Regions from separate parts of the Homo sapiens genome. Here all the other regions are linked to region 2. The links are contacts of gene promoters, found by promoter capture Hi-C in blood cells and fetal thymus (Javierre and others, 2016). All regions are on one chromosome and are shown on one strand. The core of a region is centred on a gene start or on the middle of the fragment in contact, and the rest is flanking DNA. Distances in the headings are between cores, read along the strand shown.

The links. The method cuts DNA at HindIII sites, captures the fragments that hold promoters and counts their contacts. A CHiCAGO score of 5 or more calls a contact.
Region 1: a contact is called between a fragment that was not itself captured here and the fragment with the promoter of POMP in region 2, in 1 of 17 cell types (fetal thymus). The highest score is 6.0, in fetal thymus.
Region 3: a fragment that was not itself captured here is called in contact with the fragment with the promoter of POMP in region 2 in 1 of 17 cell types (monocytes); the score reaches 5.1 in monocytes.
Region 4: a contact is called between a fragment that was not itself captured here and the fragment with the promoter of POMP in region 2, in 1 of 17 cell types (total B cells). The highest score is 5.3, in total B cells.
Region 5: a fragment that was not itself captured here is called in contact with the fragment with the promoter of POMP in region 2 in 6 of 17 cell types (M0 macrophages, endothelial precursors, M1 macrophages and 3 more); the score reaches 7.6 in M0 macrophages.
Region 6: a fragment that was not itself captured here is called in contact with the fragment with the promoter of POMP in region 2 in 1 of 17 cell types (fetal thymus); the score reaches 6.1 in fetal thymus.
Region 7: a contact is called between a fragment that was not itself captured here and the fragment with the promoter of POMP in region 2, in 6 of 17 cell types (monocytes, megakaryocytes, total B cells and 3 more). The highest score is 10.4, in monocytes.

Annotation. Positions count from the first base shown.
Region 1 is chr13:28,195,662-28,198,361 of GRCh38, reverse strand. It overlaps PAN3 (poly(A) specific ribonuclease subunit PAN3), which reads right to left. Exons shown (of 19, transcript NM_175854.8): 5 at 1,016-1,177. Among named protein-coding and RNA genes, the nearest start is that of PAN3-AS1, 58 kb to the right of the region's middle. The HindIII fragment of the contact is 7,528 bases long and covers 1-2,700 here.
Region 2 is chr13:28,657,596-28,660,402 of GRCh38, reverse strand. It overlaps POMP (proteasome maturation protein), which reads right to left and starts at 1,273. Exons shown (of 6, transcript NM_015932.6): 1 at 1,216-1,273. The coding sequence starts at 1,218. RefSeq lists a silencer at 1,341-1,400 and an enhancer at 1,621-1,780. The HindIII fragment of the contact is 5,788 bases long and covers 1-2,807 here.
Region 3 is chr13:28,256,320-28,259,026 of GRCh38, reverse strand. It overlaps PAN3 (poly(A) specific ribonuclease subunit PAN3), which reads right to left. Exons shown (of 19, transcript NM_175854.8): 7 at 2,488-2,707. Among named protein-coding and RNA genes, the nearest start is that of PAN3-AS1, 120 kb to the right of the region's middle. The HindIII fragment of the contact is 4,854 bases long and covers 1-2,707 here.
Region 4 is chr13:28,229,152-28,232,096 of GRCh38, reverse strand. All of the region lies in intron 6 of PAN3 (poly(A) specific ribonuclease subunit PAN3), which reads right to left. Among named protein-coding and RNA genes, the nearest start is that of PAN3-AS1, 91 kb to the right of the region's middle. The HindIII fragment of the contact is 1,792 bases long and covers 623-2,414 here.
Region 5 is chr13:28,293,201-28,295,922 of GRCh38, reverse strand. PAN3 (poly(A) specific ribonuclease subunit PAN3) reads right to left here. Exons shown (of 19, transcript NM_175854.8): 19 at 588-2,722. Among named protein-coding and RNA genes, the nearest start is that of PAN3-AS1, 160 kb to the right of the region's middle. The HindIII fragment of the contact is 720 bases long and covers 1,097-1,816 here.
Region 6 is chr13:28,160,807-28,163,796 of GRCh38, reverse strand. All of the region lies in intron 1 of PAN3 (poly(A) specific ribonuclease subunit PAN3), which reads right to left. Among named protein-coding and RNA genes, the nearest start is that of PAN3-AS1, 23 kb to the right of the region's middle. The HindIII fragment of the contact is 1,134 bases long and covers 935-2,068 here.
Region 7 is chr13:28,275,310-28,278,225 of GRCh38, reverse strand. PAN3 (poly(A) specific ribonuclease subunit PAN3) reads right to left here. Exons shown (of 19, transcript NM_175854.8): 15 at 850-989. Among named protein-coding and RNA genes, the nearest start is that of PAN3-AS1, 140 kb to the right of the region's middle. The HindIII fragment of the contact is 1,452 bases long and covers 561-2,012 here.

The DNA.
Region 1 (2,700 bases), core at 173-2,672, 460 kb after region 2:
ATCTTGTTCTTCAGATTTCCAAATAAATGTGACTTTGTGTAATAAATTTTATACGACTCTTTTTTTTTTTTTGAGACAGAATCTCGCTCTGTTGCCCAGGCTGGAGTGGGTGCAGTGGTGCAGTCTCGGCTTGCTGCAACCTCCGCCTCCCAGGTTCAAGCCATTCTTCTGCCTCAGCCTCTCGAGTAGCTGGGATTGCAGGTGCTCCCCACCACACCTGGCTAAAATTTTTCTTTTCTTTTCTGTATATTTGTAGAGACGGGGTTTCACCATGTTGGCCAGGCTGGTCTTAAACTTCTGACCTCAGGTGATACGCCTTCCTCGGCCTCCCAGAGTGCTGGGATTACAGGCGTGCACCACCATGCCCGGCCTTATATGACTCTTCAATGTAGTCCTATCCTGAATAACTCTTGGGTAGTAAAAATAATTGAACTCAAGTATTAACAAAATTGAAAACAGAAAAACTAAATTTAACTAAATATAGTAAAATATTCGGCCAGGAGAGGTGGCTCATGCCTGCAATCCCAGCATTTTGTGAGGCCAAGGCAGAGATCACCTGAGGTAGGAGTTCGAGACCAGCCTGGCCAACATGGCGAGACCCCATCTCTACTAAAAATACAAAAAATTAGCCAGGCATGGTGGTGTGCACCTGCAGTCCCAGCTACTTGAGAGGCTGAGGCATGGTATCTTGAATCTGGGAGGTGGAGGTTACAGTGAGGTAAGATGGTGCCACTGCACTCCAGCCTGGGGGACAGAGTGAGACTCTGTCTGAAAAAACAAAAAACAAACAAACAAAAGTAAAATATTCTACAAAGAGGAAAAGCTCAAAAAGCCACCAAGAAAAAATCATTTAGTTGGTTAAGGGTCACTAACTTTATTCTGATTAAAAATTTTTTTAATTACCTAAGTATACCAGCTAAGTCATCCAATCCTTTCACAACCACCACCCCAAACAGACACAGAAAGCAGCCAAGACATTCACTTTCAAGAAATGTCTAATAAAAATTATTTTTACCTGTAAATTGTTTTCTGTGACTCTGTTCCACCAAACCATATTGATGGGTACTCCTGATTTACACCTGTCAGCAAGGCAGCCAATAGGGTTCTTTGCTTTTCGTGCCTTTGATCCCATCGGAACTAGCCTCTCCTCCAGCATCCCCAGGCGATACTTCCTTGGCTAGGAAAAAGAAGGAAAGAAACCAGGCCACTCCTAACATCCCCCACACTAATCTAAACTAACATAACTAACATATACAGGATACTGGGAACGGTGGGATAGGAAACAAGTTTCTAAAACACTCCTTCTAATATCCTTACCACCACCCACCACCTCCCACCCCTGCACCAAACCCACACCTCCAAAATAACCCACACTCCTAATGGGCTAAAGAATATTATATAAAGCAACAGATGTTTTTAGAAAAATACATTTAATCTGATTTTATACGACTTTACTTAATGAATAGAAATTTAACTTATCAGCAAAGAAAAATGCTTTGCAAAATTTTTTCTACTGTCACTTACCTATTCTCACTGCAATATGAAGAAATGGTTTCAAGGACACAGAATACAGATTTTTCTTTTTTATAAAGTTCGCCAAACTACAACTTTTTCAGCTCACCATCTTGTTACTTTATTTCCTACTGAGAACTAACCCACTTTTAAAAACGCAGTTGTTTCCTAATAAATTGATTTTTAAAAAATTTTAATTCTATGCACGTTAGACTTGAGTACAACTCACTCTATCTTAAATAGGCATTCACCCTAAAGTATTCAATGAAAAAAAAAAACCTCAGACTAAAAAACAACAACAAAACAGTAACACAAATTGGTCTTTTAAATCTCAATAATATGAACAGATTGATAATGAATAAATTATTCAATAAAATCATAAATTATTTGCCTAACATTATAAGAAAATTAATAAGCTATCTTAATAGTGGTTAGCAGGACTTTTATTCATGAAAATTAGTGCTTGTTTCCACTATCTCACTTCTCTTAATTACAGCAAATTTGCACTAGACTGCATCTTAAGGAAAACTTGTATGTATTTTTTCCCTTCAGAAAACACTAATTCATGCTTAGGAAGGTAATTAATTTAAACTCTGAAATAAGAAAATATATGTTTACTCATTGTTCTGTCATGAGGTATAAGACTGCTGAAACAAAGAGTTAAAATTAAGTTTCTTCAAAAAAAGATGCTGGCCAGGCATGGTGGCTCATGCCTGTAATCCCAGCACTTTGGAGGTTGATGCAGGAGGATCACTTGAGCCCAGGAGCTCCAGAACAGCCTGGGCAACATTGCAAGACCCTGTCTCTATTAAAAAAAAAAAAACAAAAAAAAACCTATAGCCAGTCAAATATATTAATAATGTTTTCTAGTATAAAGAGAACCAATTTAAAAAAGACATAATTTCCAAATTTCAAAATCTTGCAAATAATGCCTATGTAAATTATTCCATGCAAATTAGATTCTCCACTCCACAAGTGTGCATCTGCTATACTGTCTTTGATTTAAAGAGGACAAGGCTGGGTGCAGTGGCTCATGCCTTAATCCCAGCACTTTGGGAAGCCGAGGTGGTGGGTCACTTGAGGTCAGGAGTTCGAGACCAGCCCTAGCCAACATGGTGAAAGCCCATCTCTACCAAAAGTACAAAAATTAGCCAAGCATGGTGGCACATGTCTGTAATCCCAGCTACT
Region 2 (2,807 bases), core at 24-2,523:
AAGCCTACTTTATTAAAAAGTACTGGGTATCTCATGTAATTTATTGAATACTGTACTGAAAGTGAAAAACAGAATGGCTGTATTGGTACTCAAATATGGCCTCTACTGACTGTGTATGGATTTCACACCATCATAAAGTCAGAAGATTGTTGAACCACCAGAAGTTGGGGACCTTCAGCAGAGATGTGTGATTGTTGCTTTCCAAATGTATCTTCTATTACTTCCCTATATGAACATTCTCCTCCTTCTGGACTGCTTTATTGTAAAGTAACAAGGTTTCAACGCACAAAGAAAAGGTGAATTCTGACTTCTGGATTCTGTTATTGTCATTTTTCCCAATTTCCTTCTGTAAAATATCAAGATTAGTACTTGCTGTTTCTAATAAAGGAAGGAGCCGAGAAAGGCAAATCTACGAAAACCTAACTACTAGTTACATTTGAGAGTGCCTAAAAAACTTTTTAGATAACGATTAGCAGTATTTACCAATAGAAACTTTCTAGATTTGGATGGATGGCCTACCAGCAGTACCGATATCAGAGTCTGTGGCAATGGTGACTCAGTGTTCTTCTCAAATACCACAACTTCTAAGTTAAAAAGAAAGAGAAAGTGGTGGGGAGGAGAAGGAGGGAGGAGATATACTAACAATACTGGCAAACAGGGAATAGCAACTGTCTGATTTTTTCCCCTCTAACATCTAGCACACTACAAGCTCTCAAAAAAGTTTGTAGAGCAAAGCTGCGTTACACAAATGCGACCTATAGTTGTGGGCTGTTTACTAGGCAGTTACAAGGGCGGGGGCTGGGGGAGATGAGGAGTCTGAGAGCTCTGGGCTCCCAGAGGTTACCCGTCAAGGAAAGGGTCGCCAGCGCCACCCCACAGAACGTTGCACTTTCACGGCTGCCTTTTCCACTTCTGCGCCAAGTAAGGGGAGGAGGTCTGGGCCTGCTGGGGTCTAAGGGATGGAAGGGCGCAAACCGAGCTAAGAGGAGCAGGATGAAGCCGAAGCACTGCTAGTGGGACTAGTGCCGGGCCCCGGCGACAGTCACGACCCACCCAAACCCCGTGACTCGACAGATTATGGCGCCTGAGGCCGGCCTCAGCCCCACGCTGCCGCCGCCGCCGCCACCGGGGACGGGTTGGGAGGCGACTGCCTGTTTCTGCCGAGCCACGGTCCCGAGCCCGCGTGGAACTCCAGCCGCCCGGGTACCCACTCACCATCTTCCGCAGCTCTGCGAACAGCCTCTCTGCCCCGTTACCGTCAGTCGACCCCGCCGCTCACTTCCGTTTCCGAGGGCTGGCCCCCACATCCGCCGGAAGTGCGTCCGTCCTGGCGAGGAAGGAAGGAGGGCGCGGGACGCCGGAGGGAGCTGCGCGGGGCCGAGGCTCCCACGCTTGCAATCCCAAGGGACCCAGGGCCAAGGGCGCAGTAAGGGTGTGGGCTGGGAGGAGGGAGGGGTCGGGACGAGACGTGCCTGAGGGGAGGGAAGACACGGACTCCGGTTTATTAATAAACATCTACGGTTTGTACGGCATTTTAAGATGTGCAGTGTGCTTTTGTAGGTACATCGCCTTATTTAACACAAAACCTCTCTGAGGTAGCTATTACATTTCACAGAAGGGTAAACGAGGCGTAGGTGGTTTGAGTGATTTGCTTGAGATCGTTCGGCTAATAAAGCAAAATTGGGACACAAGGCTTTTGTCATTTTTAAAAAACATAATATTGAAGGCCTGGTATGTTCCGAACCCTGTGCTGAGGCTAGGAATACAAAAAAGGACCAGGCCGGTGTGGCCTCTGGGCTAGAGGAGCAGGGGTACTCCGGAGGCTAGAGGGGAGAGAGGGGACGATAGTGACTACAAATTAAGTAAATGTGATCATGACCGACATATGTTGGGCCCTTTGAATTGCGTTATCAACACAGTTCTAAGTGCTTACATCCTTTATCTCTTTTAATCTTTTCAATAACCTTACAAGTACAATTTACAGGTGAAGAAACCGAGACATGAAGGGCTTAAATAAATATGCCTAAGGACATATTTATGAGTCTAGAATCCATGCTCATTACACTATTCTGTATTGTTCAAATATAATGTAATAAAACGGCCTTATAGTCTGCTGCCACAGGATGGAGACATCTTAGGGAATCTTTGGACTGACAGCTAAAAGATAAGAGCGAACTAGTTTGGGGTAGTAGGATATTTAAAACAACATTACGTGCAGATCTGCTTGTGCAAAAACGGAACTGGAAAGAAGGCCTAAGTCTGGCTAAAGTTCAGAAAGTAAAGTGGAGAGTACTGTGAGATGAGGTTGTAAGTAGATGGAGGCAAGTGGTTTTTGTTGTTGTTTTTGTTTGTTTGTTCTAAATAATGATAGGGTTTAGCTATGTTGCCCAGGTCTGCGTTGAACTCCTGGGCTCAAGCGATTCTCCTGCTGCAGCCGGCTGAGTAATGGGAACTACAGGCGTGCATCATGGGACCTAGCTACAGGTTTTTTATGCAGCCTTTGTAGGCAAGATTAAGGATGAGGCTTTGTCTTTAAAAAGCCATCGAAGGATTTGAGAGAGGAAAATGATAAGGCCATATATGTTATGTATATCCACTGCCATGGTCATACAACTTTGAAGTTCCAGATGTTATGTGTTCTGCCATGCTGTCCTTTAGGTGTCTTCTGGTCCTTCACAATAGCCATGTTTAATCCTGAGATTTGAGTTGGAGTGTTTCGTTTGCATCTTTTTTTCTTTCCGTCAATTCCACCTGAGAAATTGTAAAACTGCGAATCTTTTCTTAAAAATCATTTTAACATTTGCTGA
Region 3 (2,707 bases), core at 117-2,616, 400 kb after region 2:
TCCCTGGGTTCTGTATTCAAGGATTCGACCAACCATGGGTAGGAAATATTCAGGGGAAAAAAATGACAATACAACAAATGAGAAGTAATACAAATTAAAAATACATTATAACAACTATTCACAAAGCACTTATACTGCATTAGGTATTATAAGTAATCTAGAGATAATTTAAAGTATACAGGAGGATGTGTATAAGATCTATGCAAATACTATGTCATTCTATATCAGGGACTTGAGCACCCAGGAATTTTGCTATCTGTGGGCGTCCGGGAATCAATCCCCCTTGGATACTAAATGGCAACTATACAAGCAGTTCATCGCCACTTTTTGAAAGCAACTGGAAGGAAGGAAGGAGAAACTAAAGGTGTTTGGGTACTGGGAGATAAGGAAGTGATATTGCCCTGGCTGCCCAAAGAATTTCCCCTTTCACAGGCATTTTGTGGCCAAACTAAACAAAGTGTTATTCAAACCTACTCTAGGTCAGCAGTTTAAGTGAACAGAAGGATACAATAATACATTTACCTTCCAAGCAAACTACAATAAAGTTACTAAATCAGCTTCCAGCTTCTTGTCTTTCATTCTTTCAACTGGACTCATCCCACCACCCTTTGTTCTCTTTATCACTCTTTTCTCTGCCTCTCCTTCACTGGTCCATGATACAAAATCAAAGTTCAGTTTTAAATATCTTTTCTATTTTTTCATTCTTTCATTTTAAACAATGAAACCTTTTTTCTCTTTTAAAAACGAATTCAGCTGATTTGCGCTGCCCTAACATGACTGCTCTGCTCTGCATCTCAACTAGGAAGCAGTTTTGTGATACTTGTAAGGTTTCCTTTAGCCTGTGTCTGCAGGGAGAATAATATCTCTTTTTTCTTGTGTTGGTTTCCTTACATAAGATAGCATAGTTTAGGCTGGGCATGGTGGCTCACGCCTGTAATCCCGGCACTTCAGAGGCCAAGGTGGGCGGATCATTTGAGGTCAAGAATTTGAGATCAGCCTGGCCAACTGATCAACTGGGTGAAACCTCATCTCTATTAAAGATACAAAAGTTAGCCAGGCATGGTGGTGTGCGTCTGTAGTCCCAGCTACTAGAGGCTGAGGTGAGAGGAATGCTTGAACCCAGGAGGCGGAGGCTGCAGTGAACAAAGACTGAACCACTGCCCTCCAGCCTGGGTGAAATAGCGAACATCCATCTCAAAAAATATATATATTTATATAATTTTATATATTAATTATATATTATATATAATTTATATATAATATATAATTAATTATATATTATATATAATTTATATATAATATATATTAATTATATATAATATATATAATATATATTTATATAATTTAATAACTTTACATATATATAAAATATATATGTATTTTACAATATATTTATAGTTTACAATAGGGTTCATGTTCCTATGGAATCTAATGCCTCTGCTGATCTGACAGGAGGAGGAGCTCAGATGGTAATGAGAGCAATGGGGAGTGGGTGTAAATACGGATGAAACTTCACTTACTCGCCCACTGCTCACCTCCTGCTGTGCGGCCTGGTTCCTAACACTGGTCTCTGGTCCAAGGATTGAGGACCCCTGTTTTAGTGGACTCTGACTTTCTCACTCACTTCATCTACTACTTATTTTTCTAGGGTAAATAAAATAATTTTTGAATATGGATGAAGTAATGAAGCTAAAAAAGGTACAATTTACGTAACATGGAATCCTTCCCTCTCCTTCCCCATTCATTCTCGCCCCCTGACTCCTGTTCCTTCTCCCTCTCCTGGAACATTACTAATTGACTCTGATAAGAAATCTTTCTTTCTGGCCATGTTCTTCCTCTTTTGGTCTTAATATTCATGTTTCCTCTGGGGCCACCTCTTCCCATTTGTTTCACGATTCTTCCCTCACTTCATCGCCAGTCCTTTGGTAGCTCTTTCGTCATCTACAATCATGGCTCTCTTGGGTCTGACTACTCTATCTCCTGAGCATAAGAGCCATACTGCAGGCCCCTTATCATTATGTGTCACTCCACCATCCACAGATCTAGCTGTTAAATAACTACCTCATCTGAAATAAGGGTTTATCATTGATTTGCTTCCAGTAACTACTGAGGACATACCATCTACTTTTTCTAGCTTCTTACTGAGGTTAAACTATCTATACCTATAAACAAATGTCAGCAGGCATCAATTCCAGCTAGTACAAGGTAAACCCATAAGCAAAACATGCCATAAAGACTAAAATAAGAGCATGGATATAATCTAATTTCTGATTAAACCAGTTTAGTCCAAAACTAGAATTATTAGTAAGGCAGAACTAGATTAATTTGAAGAGTTGAGAAGAAGAGACTAGACTTCTCATCTAAGTTAGAAAATGAAATACTTTTTTGCATCACAATAAAAAGCTGCAGGAGGGGGTAGACCGCCTCACAACTAAGAAGGTCCTGTTACAAGAGAGTACTAAAATTTCCTCTTTAATGTAGACATACCATTCCAGTCAAAGGTGCTGGAGTTGTGTCTGTATAGAAGTAAGTCGTCCCACCAACAGTTTCCTTTTGGATCACCTGACCAGAAGACGGAGTCTGAGAAACAGGATTATTAACAGATGTAGAGGCACTAGAAGGCACCATGTAACTTGCTGGATTTGGAGTGTGACTTCTTCTTCTGGGAGCAGGAGAAGTATGTGGAGTAATCTTGGGGGAATGAAGA
Region 4 (2,945 bases), core at 269-2,768, 430 kb after region 2:
AAGAACTGGTTTTCACTTTTGGGTAAATATAAAGGAAAAGTGCTAAATGTTTACCTTATGACTGCGTAACAGTGACATTTCAATTATAACACCATGAACTGATTAAAAGTACAAAATCTCTTTATATTATGCAATAAAACGACAAATTTCAAAGTACTCTAAAAAGATTTATTTATTTATTTATTTTCATTTTCAGAGACAGGGTCTCACTGTGCTGCCCAGGCTGGAGATCAATTGTGTGATCATAGCTCACTCCAGCCTTGAACTCCTGAGCTCAATCAATCCTCCCGCCTCAAGCTCCCAAGTAGCTGGGACTACAGGTGTGTGCCACCATACCTGCCTATGGTTGTTGTTTATTTGTTTTGAGACCAGGTCATGCTGTGTTGCCTAGACTTATTTTTACATGTAAATCACCTTTAATAGAGGCCATGTGGATCTAACCCAAATAATTGCAACTTAATTTCCATCTCTGATTTTCCCCTTAATAACTACAGAATTTCATCAACTAATTTATATAATCCTACTTCATTTTGGCTGAATATCTATCTATGATAGATACTTAAGACTATCTGGTATTAGAAATACTGTAAGCATTAACAAAATAATTAAGTACCTTAAAGCTTTCTCATAAAATGTATTTAATCTTATTGACCAAACTCAGGCACATAATGTCAATTTATATGATGAATTTAACCTGAGCTTTATCAAACACACAGTCCTCAATATTTGATAGAGATCACAGCCTGCACAACTACTTTGTTTTCCTGGTCTACACATAGTAATCTTCCCTTTGACATAACTTCAGTCTTGCCTGTATTAATGGTGTCATTTCTAGATGAACTGTCATTAATTAATTTAACAAATATCATTAGACTATTGATTGTATAAAGTGCAGTGCCTAAATCCCAAAAACATGAATAATTCAACATATTTTAAAAAACCAGCATCAGGGTTTTAACTATACTAGTAGGAATCTTACCCACTGGCCTATAATAGTAGGTTACTTACTTCGGTCTCTATGTTTGAAGAAACAAAACAGTAACCTACCTGCTTGTCCCCAAACTTGGCCAAATGATCTAAAATGATGGGATCTCCCTAGACTCTACAATGGTGGCAATCTTTTAAATAATAACACTTACTTAAACGAAGCATCAAAACAGAGGGAAGAAAGGTGTTAGCTACTAAATATAACTGTTTTGGTTGAAAAGAACCATTTTTTTCTTCTTGAGTGGTAGTGACTGTTTGAGTAAATGGTGTCCTTCATTCATAGTGATAAATTGTGTTGTGTTGTTTACAAACAAGAAACTTAAAGACAAGAGTGTCTTATGAAAATTAATTACAAAAATTCACACAAAAAAGTAAGATTTAGTTAACAATGTAATTTTAATTTTGGATTTCTTTCCAATGAAAAAAGCTACCACCAAAGTACAAACAAAAATTAAAGTTGATCTCCAGAAAACTGTGGTTGAATCAATAAGTGCCTCTTATTTATCTAACATTAACAACAATTTAGTTGTTTTCTCTTATTTTCTCTTTCTTTTTTTGCCAGGACATGTTCTCATGTGAACAATTTAGTTGATTTTTTTGTAACAATTTAAAAACATACATATTAAAGTGTAACATGTAAATAAAAGATATCTGATTACTAGTTCCAGAACCATAGGGTTGTTTTTTTTTTCCATCCATGGAACTCTGCTTGAGGGTTTTATATTTTAAACAGCCACAGTACTTATGCTACTCATTTCCTAAGTATTTTGAAAAACTAAAAGTTATAGTAACTAATTTATATTTTGTCTCACTAACATTACCAAGGTGGAAGGAATCCGTTTCCCAGATTTATTCATGACTAAGCATCGGCAACTCCTATATTCATGAATTCAACAATAACTCTAGTTATTCAGAACACAGACATTAACCAGAAATGAAGTGATACTAGCCTCAGCCAAAGGATAATATAAAGCTCATGTACCTTATTCACAGGAAACAATTCAAGTCCTTGACTCAAAGCCTTTTTCTCATTTAAAAAAAAAGAAAAAAAAAAAGAGGTACTAAAAGATATCTTTGTGTTCTTAGCTCTCAGCAGATTAGGAGGAGGATGAGAAAGGGAGATTAAGAGGAAAGAGGAGATAAGAATGACAAAAGTTCTAAATCGAGCAGTCATTCTCAAAATGAAGTCCCAGGACAAGCAGCAGCATCAGCAACACCTGGGAACACATCAGAAAAGCAAATCTTCCCTGGTTCACCCAGAGCTACTAAATCAGAAACTCTGGGGATGGAACCACGCAAATGCTGGAGTTTAACAAGCCTCTAGGTGATTCTGGTAGACTGAAATTTGAGAATCACTGTCACAAACAGCACAACAGAATTACCAATAAAAAAGCCAATAAAAACAAAAAAAATGATCAAAGTAAGCTTGCCAGATTATGGCCATTCAAGGCACTACTTTCAGGCACTTTAAGAGACTCAGAAGCAAGAGAAAGACCTTACCTTCAAAAAGTTATAACTAATTCATTGGAGCAGAAGACCAGTGGAAAGAATAACAAATCTAAGTAATCACATAACTTGAAATAAACTCCTCTACAAACTTGGATATGTAAAGAGTCAGTGTATTCTGGTTCAATACAATTACTGAGGCACATATAGTTGAACAAGAGTCATCAATAAATAAGATTATATTTTGTTTTAAGCCAGAGAGTACTATGGAAAAATTTTGGAAAATATAAAGTTCTGACAATTAAAACTGTAAGCTTCTGATACCCAAAAAATTCAAGTATGCTGGAAAGATTCATTTCCCCTGACGCTAGATAAATCAGTTATTGCAGCTGCTTTGGTGATATTTTTAAAGTCATTACAAAAGATGCAAATGAGAAAATATCTCAAATGTATATTCATGAGATAACCAGGATCAACTGTTAAAAACTTTTGCTTCTAAAGGAGGCTGGGAA
Region 5 (2,722 bases), core at 207-2,706, 360 kb after region 2:
CGATCTCCTGACCTCGTGATCTGCCCACCTCAGCCTCCCAAAGTGCTGGGATTACAGGCGTGAGCCACTGCGCCCGGCACGGCTTCCTCTTTTGAGGGTAAAAGCCAAAATACTTAAAATGGTCCACAGGACACACCCCTTCCCTATAGACCTTTCTGACGTCACTTCCTACTTAACTTGGCTCTAGCCACATTCGCTCCCCTGCTGTTCCGCAAAGGCTCTGAAACATTCCCTTACCTGGAATACTTTACCACCAGACATACACATGGCAGACCCCTTATGCTTTCTCGTGAGTAGTCTTCTCTCCTAAACTACATTGTTAGTCATGTATTGTATTAAGATGTTTGGGTATAACTATACATTCTGTAAATACCAAGTCCCTGTATCTGTCTTAGTGCCTAGAACAGATCCAAGGACACAGTAGATAAGACTTAAGGACTACCTGATAAATTAATGAATAAATCTGCTGCCATTTCATCCAAATACAAAAATTCCTCCAAAATACAGAGGAAATAACCAATCTTTTAAAATCCAATCATAAGATAATCATCATCTTGTTATATGAACACGTGCAAGAAAAGGACAAATTTATCTCTGTAATTCTTTATTAAAAATACTGCTGTACACATAGAGACTGAAAACAGGATTAAAGATGAATAACACAAATTGGGTCATGACATTAGAACCTAACACACTGGTGCTTTTTAGGGAAGTTGTTGACATCCAAATCACAGAACCAAGGTCAAAAGCAAAATACAAAGGTACCCTCAAAAATATTTACAATGAAGTAAATACACTAACAGAATTTAAAACAGGTACAAAATATTGAAATGACCAACGTTACATGATTTCAAGGGTTGTCCTTTCTGTGCTTTTATCTGTCACGACAGGAAGGTGTGGAAAGTTTATATCCTTAATTTGACTACTCTTGGATATTAAAATCTTTCTATTAATTAAAAAGACTTTTAGACAACCTCTTAAATGGAATTACACTATGGAAAACAGGGCTCCCCCAAAAACACCTAGGCAGAACTGAGAGTTCTTTGAAAACCATTCCCAATAAAAACTAAATGAAAAATAAATATAAAACAAAGCTTAAAAAAATATGCATTACCTGACACCAACCTTTTCTGGCTGACAATATTTATTCATGAAAACATATCAGCTGTCTACCTTTTATATGCAAACCAAGTCCTGAGGTTAACTAGGGGCTGAAGCAAACTAGCATTTAGGATGCAAACATTCTTGGATTTGTGATGTAAACTTGCCTTGCACAGGGAAGTTTGCTGGTCTATACAGAATGAGAAATTCAAGCCCTATTTTAACCCCTGCCCTCTTTAGCTTTCACAAAACATTGGTCCACAAATTAAATTTTCAAAAAGTTCCCAGACCCCAAAACTAAAATAGATGATCCCCTTTCATTTTCAAAGAAAACAATATTGGAAAAAATCTCCAGCCCGCTTATAAATTAAGCATTTCATATTTCTTCTAGAATACAAGTAGTTCTTTTTTGTACAAAAGAATACAATATGATTTGTCAAAAAACATATAAAAAGACAGCTGCTCTTCCTCAAATACATGAGCTAATGATAAAAGACTTTTTCATGTTAATGTCTCCAAGTTCTTCTTTTTACATAAAAAAGAACATTATGGTGGCAAATGTGAATTATCCTTTTAATATTGAACATTATATTCTTTTAAAATCCATCCAGATCAAATGCAATAATTTTCTTTTTAACTCAACAACTGATGCTACCAAACGTGGACTCAATATACTTGTTAAAACGTGTAAAGCGTGTCTCTAGTCTTCAAAGCTTTCAGGTGAAGAGAGGTGCTTTTTCTTGATGCAAATCTCAAGGCAGAGAAAATCATTTTAAAGCTTATAAAAAGTGGACAGAGAAATATTAAAAACTTCTCTGAAATATACAAATATGTGTAATTATTAAAATTGAAGACAGTAACATCAGTTGCAAGTGCTTGGAAGTCTGTCCTGACCTTTTGAGTTTCCACATTTTCTTCAGTTGCATGGTGAGCACCCAGTGCTAGTAAAACATTCAGTGCTGGGAAAGGAGATATAGTCTTCATTACTGTTTTTTAAGAAAGAAAATTCCTATGTATTTGGCAGTCTTCAGTATCAAAGTATAGGTATTTCATTTACTAGAAATTCCATGAATACCCAAGTTTGGCGACAACTGCATGTCCAAATATTAAGAAAGTTAAGAGGAGGAAAATCCCAAACTTTTGAGATGGACTTATTCAGGAATATCGCACAGAGTGAGTTATTATCAAAAGTACTATTACTTTGGGCTAAGCAGTGACTGCAAAGGCACAGCAGATCGTTATCCCTCCAAATTCAGGCTGTAAAACATCAGAAAGCTCTTGATACCAGACCACTGCTGAGTTTAGTTCATCTTCTGAACAGTGTCTCTGTGTCTGTCTCCAGTGTAAAGGACCATAATAAAGCTGTGGTTCAAAGAGCAAAACTTCATAAACCTCCCCCCCGCCCAAAAAAAAAAAAAAAAAAAAAAAAAAAAACCAGCAAACTGGAAAGAACCTAAAGTAATACACTCCTGAACTTTAGGCCTTTAACACAATTTCTTAATTTTCTCCTATTTAAAAAATTTGCATAAATGTAAATGTATCTGACTAGCAGGCAAATGTCTTTTTAAAAAGGCTCTAGTTGAATTTGAAGGAAAGAGCTATACATGCTCCTTCAGTTACT
Region 6 (2,990 bases), core at 252-2,751, 500 kb after region 2:
TATACATCTACTGTAAGATCTTTACAAGAATCATATAACGATTGAACTTTCTCCTCCAGTTACAATGATATACTCATTATATGCTTAAAATCTCCCACACTTTACCATCTGGAGTATAATCAATTTCTAATATACATACTCAAGACTCAGGTATGATGAGAAAGAAAAAATACTTGGAGTTACACATTGAGTTTGGGTCCTACTTGTGCCATTTACATACTATATGAGCATGAGCAAGTAACTGTAAATTTCATTTCTTCATCTGAAAAAAGAGGTTAAATACCATCTCACTCATAGGGTTGTGGTGTGGAATCAAATGAAATAATCTATGTAAAGTGCCTAGTATGTTTTCTAACAGGTCATCATAAACATTATTTTTTAATTTGCCCTTCTCTAGAAAGTATTCCCCAATTATTCCAAGCTGTTAAAACCTTTACCTCTTAAGATACTATTTATATCACTCATTTGAGAAAAAAAAACTTCCTTTTGACTTTTTATTGCTGTCTTCAACTACAGTATTTAAGCCTTTACATTTTCAGGTATTTCTGTACTATCTACTAATGTAAATTATCTTATCTTTGTTTTGTTTTGAATTTATTTTTTATTATTTTTTGTAGAGACAGGGTCTCATTATGTTGCTGGTCTCGAACTCCTGGGCTTAGGAAATTGAGGCTGCAGTGAGCTGTCATCATACCACTGCACTACAGCCTGGGTGACAGAGCAAGATGCTGTCTCAAAAAAAAAACTTCCTGGGCTCAAGTGATCCTCCTGCATTGGCCTCCCACAGTGCTGAGTTTACAGGTGTAAGCCACTGCATTCGGCCTTAAATTATCTGTAACTACACTGTATGTATCTGTAATTATGCACACCTTTCACTTTTTGGTACTCCTTAATCTAATAGCACATTTTTGTTAGGTTTTTTTTTTTTTAAGCTTGGTGGCAAGTTGTTATTTTTGAGAAAAAGTCTCCCTCTGTCACCCAGGCTGGAGTGCAGTGGCATAATCAGCTCACTGCAGCCTCAAACTCCTGAATTCAAGCAATCCTCCCTCCTTGGCCCCTCAAAGTACTGGGACTACAGGCATGAGTTACTGAGCCCAGCCTAGCACATTTGTACAAACTTTTATTTTCAATTAAATGCTTTTTTTTTTTTAAGGCAGAGTCTCACTCTGTTGCCCAGGTTGGAGTGCAGTGGCGTGATCTCAGCTCACTGCAACCTCCACCTCCTGGGTTCTACAGGTGTGCGCCACCACGCCCATATAATTTTTTGTATTTTTAGTAGAGGTGGGGTTTCGCCATGTTGCCCAGGCTGGTCTCAAACTCGTGAGCTCATGCAATCCACCCGCCTCGGCCTCCCAAAGTGCTGGGATTACAGGCATGAGCCACGGCACCCGGCTGATTGCCTCCACTTTTCCAATGAGGAAACTGAGACCTCAGAGATGCCAGATGACAGTACAGTGAGTGCAGGCCCAAGAAACAGGGGCTCCTCTACCCCCTCAGCAGATACTCACACCATCCTTTTCTTTATCGGATTGTGGAATGAGCATAGACTTTTAACAAATACTGACCATGAGGTCTGTTTCAGCCAGTTGCCAACTACTAACCTTCAACAGTATACTTAAGTCTCAGTTTCTTCCTCTGTAACACTAAAACAGTAGCATCTACTTTCCAAGGTTGTTGTGTTAATTCAGTATACTGGCATGCCCAGTTGATATTAGGTGCCAAATCTACTTATTTATTTGCAAAAAGTAGCCTGCTTTTTCTGATGAAACACTAATATGCTCTTTGTAATAGAGTGTGTTAGGAAAAACTTTCCATGTAGGTTTTTCTCTTTTTAATTTTAAAATAAATGATAAAAAGGTAGGCTGGAATATTTTACACATCTGTTATAAAACCCACAGAAGCTGTCTGTAAAACAAGACTCAAATCCAAAGCAGGTGGACAAGACATACTGTCTGTTTGAAGAGCTGGAACTCCCTCGAAAGTTCACAAACCAAGGAAAAAGTCAAACTGTCAGAAAACAGCAATTAATGACTATAAACACTGTGCTTCCTGCCCTTATGATAAAGCTTCTGTGGAGACAGTCATGAAGAGAACAAGTTCAAATTCTCAATTCTCTACCTAACTCCGAAGCTCCATAAGGCATTTCAGGTTATTATCTCATTTGTTTAACCACACAACTGTTAGAAGTTCAACTGTCCCTCCCAACCCCCACCACATTCCTATGCTGAAGTCTTAATCCCCTGTACCTTGGAATGTGACCTCATTTGAATATAGAGTCACTGCAGATATAATTAAAGATGAGGTCATTAGGGCAGTCCTAATCCAGTATGACTGGTGACATTATAAAAAAGGGAAATTTGAACACAGATGCACACAAAGGGAAAACATCAAGTAAAGATGACAGGAGTGATTGGGAAGATGTTTCTACAAGCCAAGAAATGTCCAAGATTGTCAGCAAACCAAAAGCTAAGGGGAAAGACATGGAACAGATTATCCTCCACAGCCCTCAGAAGAAGGCAATCCAGCCAACACCTTGATCTTAGACTTTCAGCCTCCAAACCTGAGACAATAAATTTCTGTTGTGTAAGCTCCCCGCCCCCGAAAACATACAATAGAGCCACATAATAAAAGATTAAATATAGATTAAACTAAAAATACAGGTTAATAAAAATATTTCAGTCAAACATTAAGCTCAGACATTTTGAAACAGACAAGATAAAAAAAGGGAAAATGGAAGTTTAAAAATTGCTTGCTTAGTAAAATAACAAATACCAATTTGTTTGAGCAAAAACCATTTTTCCTAGTACTAAACTATTCGAAGAAATTATTACAAGGATTTTTCCATAAAGAACATTGAACACCATGACATCTTCAAGACAACTGAAAGATTTCTTGAAACACTTTTTATATTTATTCTCAATAGAAGTACAGAAAAGAATATTATGCCACAACTAAAGTGAGGTAATTCCATAAAGAACTAACGATATAGT
Region 7 (2,916 bases), core at 37-2,536, 380 kb after region 2:
GGGCAATCCCACCCTCCATCCCCCAATTCATACCCCAGGGCTGGTCCAAAAAGAAACTGGATCATCCAGGGCTACACAGAAAGATCAGAATGGGCAGCTGTAAGCTAAAAGAGACTGTTGATTAGCACCTCTTCTCTAATATAGCTCATAACTGTAATAAAGGTCGTGGTTGCCCACCCTCTGGGATCTCCCAATAGTAGCTATATCTTACGGAGAAGTCCTTCTGTTGTGACAGTAGTCCACACAATGGGTTTCTCTTAAGCCAAATTCATCTCAAATCGATACTCAAGGATTCTCTGGAGCGTTAAGATACTGGAGTGTAAGCATGGGGGTCTCCACACAAATGCTTTCCAGAATGGGTATTTTGGCCAGAGTACATGACTGGATTGCACCTGAGGCTTACTCATGATGGCTTTCACACTCTCTAGAGCAGCACTATCCAACAGAACTCCAAGATGAGGGAAATATTCTATGTCTGTGCTGTCCAATTATATTAGCCAGTAATTACATGTGGCTGCTGAGCTCTTGAAATGTGACTAGTGTAATTGAAGAAGTAAGCTTTAAATTTCAATTAATATCAATGTAAAAGGTCACATGTAGCTAGTGGATACCAACAAACTTCTACTGGGTGCCCTTTAACCAAATGTTTAAAACATCAATAACTAATTTAAACACACTGGTTTATCAATTTATCTAAGAAATATTTACTTTGCAATAAAAATAAAGACATAAAGTTTCTGTTTTGCTTGATTTTAAATAGTGGGAACCAAAACAATCACTTAAAACAAAAAAAGCTCTGTCTTATCGCAAATAATCATTCTGTACAATTTATCATATATTAAAACTTACAAAATCAGATTCTTCAGGTCAGAGGAATAGTTGATTGTCACCAGTTCCATGGCTTTCTGTAAATTCTCTCGCTGAATTCCTGCCAAAGAGTTGCAAGCCAAAGCCAACACAACTTTTCCTAATGATATCAGATCTGCTTGCTGACATGAAAGAATAAATATAACTTTTAATTTTCATTTCACAGGTACTCATTTAATACACTGACACTACTGCCTAAATGGAAAAAGCATCATTATAAATAAGCTGCAGGCAGGGTCCTCAAATACTGGTGATTCTCAGAATAACCTGGAGCTTATTAAAAAGACGACTTCGAGCCTCTCTACCAGAGATTCTCATTGGGTGGGTCCAGAAAATGGCTCAACATTTTTAAAGCACCCAGGTAATTCTGATGAAGGTAGTTCTAGGTCCACGCCTTAAGAGACTTTAAGCAATTCCCATGCCAACTACAAATTGCCACTTTTAAAAAGTTTTTCTAATTTTTTCTTATTTAAATAGAGGTAATATTCTTCTCTATTACAACAAATTTAAGGTTACTATACATTTGCTTTGCTATGACCACTATAACTTAACATACATACTTTGCTCATTTTCTGTAACTCCCAGAATATAGTGGGAATGTGAAGGATTATCTGAAGAAAAGTTATCCTATTACAAACATTAGCATTAACCAGATTTTAGAGCAAATTCTCTAGAACATCAAAAATGCTGCAAACCTCAATGAATGACATCCCATCTATCTTTGTTTCCAAATAGACTATTTTTCCTCACACTCTAACAGATCTTTGAGCTCTGGAACCACCACCTGCTTTCCTAAAACCTCTCCCACTCAAGATTTACCATTCTGAGGCTTTCCTTCTAAAAGGATTTTCAAAAGACAGCTGGCTGAATTAAGTCCTTTATCACCTATTATAACTCCAGGAAACAGTATGGTCATCCCAAGTGGCCCTGATTGGTAGGAAGCTATTAACAACCACATGCCTTCAAGAATGGAGTACTTCAGAGTTAACATGAAACCACCTGAAGCAATTTCTACAACAGACATTTGCAGATCTTTAAAATCTGAGAACTCATCTAAATTATTAGACACACGTTCATTTACTGAACATTCGTTTATTATAAGGAATTTTCAAGCATAGCTGTATATTACCATCACTTGAGAAGCTTAAAAACAAAACCAAAATCAGCAGTAGCCATCCCCTCGTCCCAATTTTGGTATAATTAGTCTGGGATAAAAATCTAGGTATTGGTATTTTTCTAAGCTTCCACAAATGATGGTAATATGCAGCCAGGATTGAGAACCACTGGTTTGTTGGAATATTTGTAACTTTAAGGCAATCATTAGTGAAATTCTAGCATTATATGGTTATACTTAACAACAGCCTACCCAAATAATGAGTAAAAAGACGTTAAACTCCATTACTAAAATAACATTTAAAAGTTCATACTAAAAAATTTATCCAAAACTAGCATTTGTGAATCTGACACTGAACATGAGATAAGGAGACAGACTGATTAGGTAGACAAACTACTTTGAATCTATTAGAAAAGATTCAAAGATTCATCCCAGAAAACTTTTAAAACTTCACTGGTGATAGAGTCAGGAGCCCAGAATGGCAGGAGGGAAGCTGGCATGGGAAGGAGAACTATTACTGTTGCCATCATTTCTGTTTGCTGGAGGACACTGTGATGAACTCCAAAAAGAATTCCTCTCAATCACACTTTAGATCAAGTAAAACATTCCAAGTTATATTCATGAAATTACAGAAATCTCAGCCAAAAGAAATCAGTGCATATAAATGCCAACTATAAATTTCTATGGGCGATTCAATCCAAAGTATCCAGCAAAGCATACCAAAGATTGTTGTTATTTATCACGTGTTTGAGCAGCAGGTACCAACACACAGTCTTCCAACTCTTCAAGCAGCAGAATTTTCAGTTTGGTTCCACCCTGAACTGATGCTGTATTAAGCCTCCCTCCCAGAATATTCCATTATTCTCTATTATGAGACAGAAAACCAAAATGGTCCAAGAGAGCTGAAGAACCAGATGGGTTTAAAAAATAACATC